Linked DNA regions of Homo sapiens: region 2 is linked to region 1. Evidence: promoter capture Hi-C in 16 types of primary human blood cells and fetal thymus (Javierre and others, 2016). All regions are on one chromosome and are shown on one strand. The core of a region is centred on a gene start or on the middle of the fragment in contact, and the rest is flanking DNA. Distances in the headings are between cores, read along the strand shown.

Region 1 (3,993 bases), core at 682-3,181:
ATACAAGATAGAGTCTGTAGAAAACAGCAACAACAAAAGCAATCTAGCCCTAGTCTCCCCTCTACTGGGAGCATTGTTTTTCTGGCCTAAATTAATTTATGGCTTTCTAATCTATGGAATTATTTATGTGACTAATGGGTAACTTAAAAATATTTAGAACACCACTATTTATCATTAGAAATAAGAAGAATAAAGAATGTTAAAACTTTCAAGTAAGCATATTTAACGTCTTCTTCAGATGTCCACAGTTTTTTAAGCAGTTCTATTAATATCAACACAAGAGAAAGTCAGAACAATGTAAACAATAACATTCAACTAGTTATTTTTACATAATTACGTTTGCAGAACTCAAGAGCTTTACTTTCCGTATATGCCCTTTGAAATAAGTCATTGCTTTAAAACTTCCCAGGAACTCTAAAGCTACCATTTGTAACATTAATCTCCAAACAATCCAGTAAAGGATGTTTCCCAAAATATTAACGAATTGACAACTTTTCAAAAGCACTTAATAACTATATTTAATTTTAGATGATAGGAGGGGAAAGGTTCTCAGACCACCTATCTCAGACGTCTGCCTTCAAAACAGTTAGATATAACTATATCCATTTTCTTGAACACTTAGGCCAGTGAGGCAGAATCTCAAAAGGATGTAAGAGTGCTTTCTCCACAGAGTTTGTTTCACCACCCGCCCAGCATCAGCTCCTGGCAAGCAGGGTAATGATAAGGCATAAATCTACAAATAAATTAATGCTTAAACTCTTGTGGAGTTCAAATTTATAAATTCTCATAAATTCATTGTCATTTATTTTCTAATTTTTACAACGCAGAAATGTTATTAGAGTGCTAAGAACGGCAACTATAATCTCACATTGTTGGGCTTTGGCCGTTTCGTATCCTTTTACAACGAACTTGTGTTTTTTTGATAGTTTTCTCTAAAGGGTATTTATGAAAGATTCAGAAATGTAGTATCTCTCTTCAAACCCTTGTTAAATATATATAGTATATATGTATATATTAATATGCAAAATAATTTATTTTTGATGCATGGTCGGACTTTTCATTACTTTTCATTCGAATCAATTGCTTTTAATTAATATATTTAAAAAGTCTCCTTAAATTGTTTGTTCCTTTCAATCTTTGCAAGCAAAACAAGTCTGATTTTGGAGAGGGGAGGACAGCAAAGATTCTATTTTACGATCTACTTAATAAATAGTATACCTGCCTTATATCCAATACCGTCTTTTTTCTGGAACGCATTTCCTTTTTACTCAAACCTTTCTTAGTACAACCCTACTAATAAGTCCATCTTCAAAGGGGTAAATGATCTATACAGAAGTGTCTGGCCGGCGGAGGGATGAGAACAGCAACCTAGGCTCTAGACATATACTTAATAGCCATAAAAATAAAACAATGTCCCTCGAAATGTCCACAGTTTACACTGCAATGGTAGTTTAGATACATAAATATTCGCTGCTTGCTGTGCCTTGTAAGAATCAGGTGTGTGGCTCTAAAACTCAGTTGATTATCTCATCAGGCACCATGGTGTGCAAAGCCCTGCAGGACGTACATTACCCTGGTCCGCGATCACAGGGAGGTCAGAGCCCCTCTCGCATGACGCCGCGACAGTTCCAGCATCACCCACATCAATCCTGAGCTTGCCTTGGTATCTCTGCGGCCCCACCGGCTTCTTACCTGGAGGAGGAGGCGGCTGCAGCGGCGGACAGCGGAAGGTGCTGAAGCCGGCGGGCGCAGCTGCGAGGCGAGCACCACCAACGCGCGGACCCTCCCCGCCCTCCCCGCCTGCTCGCTCAGGGCGCCCGGGGGCGGGGCGGCCGGGCCCGCGGGCTCCGAGGGGCGGGAAGCGTGCTCCGCAAGCCCCAGCGCGGAGCCACGATGGAAGGCGCCGCGAGCCCGATCTCCAGGGTCTGCCCCAGAGGCCCACGTGACAGCTACACAGGTCGCTGATTGGAGCGCCCGAGAGGGGGAGGCGGAAGTGGCTCGTGACCCTTGGAGACTAGGCTGAGGGAGAAGTGGTTACCTGGCAACAGAGAAAGTGTGTTGAAGGCGCAGCTCCTCCGTACTGGAGCGAGGCTTTGGGCAGAGGGTTTGCACTGAGGCTGAAAGTGGAGGAAAACGGTGAACCATCAGCGTTCTCACCACCTAACACATTTTATAGCGAGTCTGCACTTTCTAGGAAAATGAGTCAAATATACAGTAAGTCAGTCATCCTGTCTCTTTCTTGAGGGACCTGGAGGAGGGACTTGAACCAGTGCCTGGAATGTGAGTGCAGAATGCTGTCTCGCCTGCACTTCATTATTGTCTGATTGGGCCCAAGAAGGTCTGTGGGAGAGCTCAATGGATAAGATTATTTGTTTATATTAATCGAGTTGTATGTGGTTAATGTATCTGCCTTCACAAAACTGACATTTTCCCTGTGGGATCTGGTTGAATGGAAGTGCTGGATGTTGTCATTCCTACTGGATTCTTCACATCTCTGAAATATCTTCACTACCTGTGGCCTTTATCCAACACACTAGAGAGAATAAGCCTCGACGTACTCGAAACAAAGTGTATTTAATGACATCTATCGAGAATTAATTATACTCCACTCTAAATAGTTAATAAATGAATGGTCGACCTCAACCAGAGAAAGTCCCTGGGCCTAATTCTTACCTTCCTATGCAGTAGATTTTAATGCTCCTTTTTTCCAAAATATTCTCTGCAGAGACGAGTACCTACCACAGCACTCAATATTCTATATTGTAAATTAAAATTAACTTAAATGTTGGATTTCCATATAAAGAATAAACTTGTTAAAGCTAAAATCAGTTCTTACAACTCCGTCCCCTATATTCTAACAAAGTATCTGATGAATAGCAGGTCTTCAATTAATTCTTGATGGATAGATGGATAAAGAAAGAAAGAAATTAGCACATAATCTACCAGAGAAAGTATAAGGGCAATAACTAAATATAACTCAATGTGTTAAGTACTAAAATAGGGTTACATAAAAGTGCTATGAGATGATTTCAGATGAGGGAGGCAGAACTTTTTCTTCCAAGGTATTCAGAGAAGCTTTCAATATGATTAGTATTTGAGCAGGGACTTATAAATAGGTAGAATTTCACCTGATAAAAAGGGGAAAGTGTATACTATGCAGCAGGAGCAGCATTGCCAAAAGCATAAAGTGGGAAAAAATAAACGATTGATGTAAATAAATTTGATGTTTTTGCCTTCTCCGGAGTTGGGGATGTGAATCCAAAGATAAGAAGGAAGATGGAAATTGGCAAAAGACTGTACTAGAAAAATAAGAAAACTTGATTGGGAAAGATGCAGAATTCTATATATGGGTTAGGCTTTAACCTCTAAACCAAAGGAAGAGATTGAAGTTTATAAAATCAGTGCTTTTTCATCAAGAAAGACACCTTGGAAACATTGGAGATACATGGGATGCAGGAAGATGAAGAACATGGTCTGTTAGGAGAAAAATTCAGTAGTTCATGGGAAAAGATGCTGATGACCTGAGTTAAGACAATGAAAATAAGAATAGCGAAGAGGGAAAATCACAAGAAACATTTCTGTGAAAACAGACTATAGTTTTCATTTATGACTGATATTTGCTAGGTATAGTGCTGAATAGTCAATGGTGTACATGAAGAGAAAATGCTGAAGATACAACGTCTAGCTTAGTCCATCGGTTGGACGGAAAAAATCTTTTATGTTTATTTTGCTCATAATGGCTCCAGCTCTCCAGTTAAGAAACAAAAAACCGGCCGGGCGCGGTGTTTCACTCCCGTAATCCCAGCACTTTGGAAGGCCGAGGTGGGCGGATCACCTGAAGTCAGGAGTTTGACGGCAGCGTGGTGGTGAAACCCCGTTCCTACTAAAATACAAGATGAGCTGGGCGTGGTGGCGGGCACCTGTACTTCCAGGTCCTCGGCAGGCTGAGGCAGGAGAATGGCGTGAACCCAGAAGGCGGAGATTGCGCCACTG
Region 2 (3,858 bases), core at 437-2,936, 110 kb after region 1:
TTTTCAGGTGAGGAAACTGGGGCACAGAAAGACAAGGAAACTCATTTAAGCTTACACAGTTCTAAAGTGCTTGAGCCGGGTTTCGCACTGATACAACCTAGCCACGGGGGCCACACCCTTAGCCACTAGAGCTGTGCTGTCCAGTAGAACTCATGGAGATGATGAAAACGTTCTAGATCTCTGTTGTACAATACCAGAGCCTTAGCCACAAGTGACTGTTGAGCACCTGGATTGTGAACAGCACAACTGAGCAAAGGCATTTACATTTCATCTAATTTTAGTTTATTCAAATTGAAATAGCCACATGTGACTAGTGTCTACCTTCTCAGACAGCTCAGCCCTAGACTATACTGCCCTCTAGGAAAAGTCAAGGTATAGAGCGGGCCAGGAAGAAAAGCTAAGGACATGTAATTGAACAAATTTCTATCACCCAGTGATCAGTGCTGTCAGCATTTCTCAGGACTGTAAAAAAAAGATGTTTTTTAAACCAACTGGGTTAACATTTCTAACTCAATTTTAATAGTTCCCATGGTAGTTATTTTATTTTATTTTATTTTTTGATATGGAGTTTTGCTCTTGTTGCCCAGGCTGGAGTGCAATGGCACGATCTCGGCTCATCACAACCCCCACCTCCCGGGTTCAAGCAATTCTCCTGCCACAGCCTCCGAAGTAGCTGGGACTACAGGCATGTGCCACCATGCCTGACTAATTTTGTATTTTTAGTAGAGACGGGGTTTCTCCATGTTGGTCAGGCTGGTCTCGATCCCGACCTTAGGTGATCCGCCCACCTCGGCCTCCCAAAGTGCTGGAATTGCAGGTGTGAGCCACTGCGCCCGACCTCCATGGTAGTTTTTATATACATTATAAGTCTGCCATGTGTCCTGCAGAACTCAAAGTTGTGTAATGTGTCATAATAAACAAAGCAATAATACTATATTAACTAAAAATAATGACATGCAAATATCAATTAAATCCCTGCCATACACTGCTTTACAGGCAATTGGCTACTCTTTTTGTGGTTAGAAAGTGCATTCTTCCTAATTCTTTGTACTACATATCTTAAAATGGATACAGTTTAGGTCTGCAAATGCTATTTCCGGAGTCATTTTCACATCTATTACACAAATTACTTTCCCTTAGACTACTTCTCTGTGGAAAATTGTCATGATACAGCCGAGGTTCCAACACAGTGTATTTATAGGTTTTTCAGCTTCAAAAACTATCAAATTCTTGGAACAGTTTGATATAGAATAAAATTTCCCTGCCCTTTGATTTCTTTATTTGTTTTATAAAATTTAGGATTTTAGATATGTAGAATGCATGCATGCTCTATTCTTGAATCAAAGTAGAACATTCCCATTATTTAACTTTTAAGGCAAGGGGATTTCTGTTTTTCTTTTCTTTTTCTCTCCTTTTTTTTTTTTTTTTAAAAACAGGGTCTTGTTCTGTCGCCCACACTGGAGAGCAGTAGTGTGATCTTGGCTCACTGCAGCCTCTACCCACTGGGGTCAAGCAATCCCAAGTAGTCAGGACCACAGTCATGCGCCACCATGCCTAGCAAATTTTTATATTTTTAGTGGAAATGGGGTTTTGCCATGTTGCTCAGGCTGGTCTTGAACTGTGGGGCTCAAGGGATCCTCCCATCTCAGCCTCCCAAAGTGCTGAGATTACAGGCCCAAGTTCCCATGCCCCCACCGGATTTCTGCTTTCTTTGGGCATTGTAATACACCAGGACTGGACTCATTGGTGGACAGGATGGCTCATTATCTATTTTATTATATGATTTTGTGGGCTCTGGGACAAAATGTATTACAAAAATTTTCAGGAAAGATGTACACAAAAATATCTCTGGAATGAGTGAATGGATTAATGCTTTCTAATATTCCTAGTTACATGTTGCTTAAATGGAAGAATTTAAAATTTTTTCTTACAACAATCCTTACCCTAAGAAGGTGGAGGTACTGTAGCCTCCGCTCCTTGTTACAATGGGCAACTGGGAAAATAACTGAATAATATGTTAATTCCATTGCTTTGGGGACATCCATTCTGAGATCACTACCTTAAGCTACAATCCATCATGGGAATCCATTATGCAGCTTAGAACTCCACTAGACTCCTTGGACATCTAGCTTTGAAGTGTACATAGAAACGAACTTCTCCTAGCTTCTTAAGGAATATAGTATCTTAACTTGAATATTTCAAACATAAAAGAATGTTCTCAAAAGTCAAAGACTCTCAAGAGTCAAACAGATTTTTGACTCTTGAAAAGGAAAGTTTAGTTACTTGTCTCTGAGGTATTTGTTTTAGTTACTTGTCTCTGAGATATTTGGTCACCTGGGCCTTGTAATATCACTGTATTAGTCATGGTTCTGCAGAGAAAGAGAATCAGCAGAATGTGTGTCTGTGTGGAAGGAGATTTATCATAAGGAATTGACTCACATGATTATGGAGGCTGGTGAGTCCAAAGTCTGCAGCATGGCTGCCAGCAGGCTGCAAGCCCAGGAGAGCCGATGGTGTAGGGAAAGTTGGAAGGTAGACTGCTGGAGAATTCCCTCTTGTTCAGAGAAGCTGGTCTTTTTTTTTCTATTCAGGCCTTCAAGTGATTGAATGGGGCCCACCTCATTATGCAGGGCAATCTGCTTATGAAAAGTTTACCAGTTTAAGTCTTATCTCATTCACAAACACGCTCCGCATTAACCAATACCATTAACTACCCAGGTAATATAAATGTGAAGAAGCCTTGACTTGTATAAAGCTATATAATTCTGGGATAAATCCAGATATTTTTTCAGAAAATTGTTGCAATTCATTCATATTTCTTATTAGCTATTACTTATTAACTGTGCGTATTCTAGTTGCTTTAAATGCCTAAAGCCTCATTGCTTCAACAGCCTTTCAAGGTAGATGGTATTCCCCTCATTTTTAGTTAAGGACACTGAAGCCTCAAGAGATTATTTCGCCGTCAGAGGTAATGAGGATGGAATCCAGAAATTTCGGACTTATAGGCCAGTGCTTGTCCAACTCTATCCTCTCTCTTTCCTTTTCTGTCTGTTCATGGCCTAATCATATGGACATCATGGGAATCAATATCTATTTTTACTGTTTTATCTCCATCTTCACTTCTATATCCACAGATTTAAAAAATCATAATGTATGGTTCTTCCACCCATTTTTCCTACTAAAAGTAGTATTTTCACATGAAATACTATTTATAAAGAAAAATGGCTTGTTACAGGGTCAGTTGGGCAGATAAGCATCTTGAGAAGGTGACGTTTTTCATTCCATGGGGAGTTCAGTAGGCAGGATGATAGATGAAGCTTTCCAATTATTTATCGACGTGTTGTATTTAAGAGTAGTAATTTCTAGGTTGCAGAGATGAAATTCCCTTTCCCAGTGGTCACTTGGAATGGGTGGCATTCAGTATAACAGAAGCCTGAAATAACCAAAAAGGCTTTCTAAATATTCATGGGAGAAAAAAAAAAGTCTTACAAATACTATATTTTAACATTTAGTATTATCTCTGCTCCTGTAAGTATTTTTAGTTTCAGAGCTCTACTTTCTTACTCAACTAAATATTTTTGATAATTCAGAAATTAACATTGTTGAAATTATGGCTGATAATTTCTGTAGGAATAATAGAATTCTTGCTATTAATCATTTAAGGTGACAAGAAATATCATGACATTTAGAACTATTGTGTGTCATTTAAAAATACTTTCATGAAAATAATACATTTCTCTAAATGTAAGTGAGGACTTTGTCCCCTCATTTCCCCTGCCAGCACACTCAGGCACAGCAAAAAATAGCACTGCCCAATCTGTTGACTGCAGCAGATTGTCCTAGGTTCTTTTGAGAGTA

The links. The method cuts DNA at HindIII sites, captures the fragments that hold promoters and counts their contacts. A CHiCAGO score of 5 or more calls a contact.
Region 2: a contact is called between a fragment that was not itself captured here and the fragment with the promoter of WDR17 in region 1, in 2 of 17 cell types (total B cells and naive B cells). The highest score is 7.9, in total B cells.

What each region holds. Positions count from the first base shown.
Region 1 is chr4:176,063,779-176,067,771 of GRCh38, reverse strand. WDR17 (WD repeat domain 17) reads right to left here and starts at 1,931. Exons shown (of 29, transcript NM_181265.4): 1 at 1,693-1,931. RefSeq lists a silencer at 1,676-2,055. The HindIII fragment of the contact is 5,440 bases long and covers 1-3,077 here.
Region 2 is chr4:175,950,601-175,954,458 of GRCh38, reverse strand. All of the region lies in intron 2 of LOC107984113 (a long non-coding RNA gene), which reads left to right. It also overlaps a transcript of GPM6A not described here. Among named protein-coding and RNA genes, the nearest start is that of WDR17, 110 kb to the left of the region's middle. The HindIII fragment of the contact is 3,267 bases long and covers 53-3,319 here.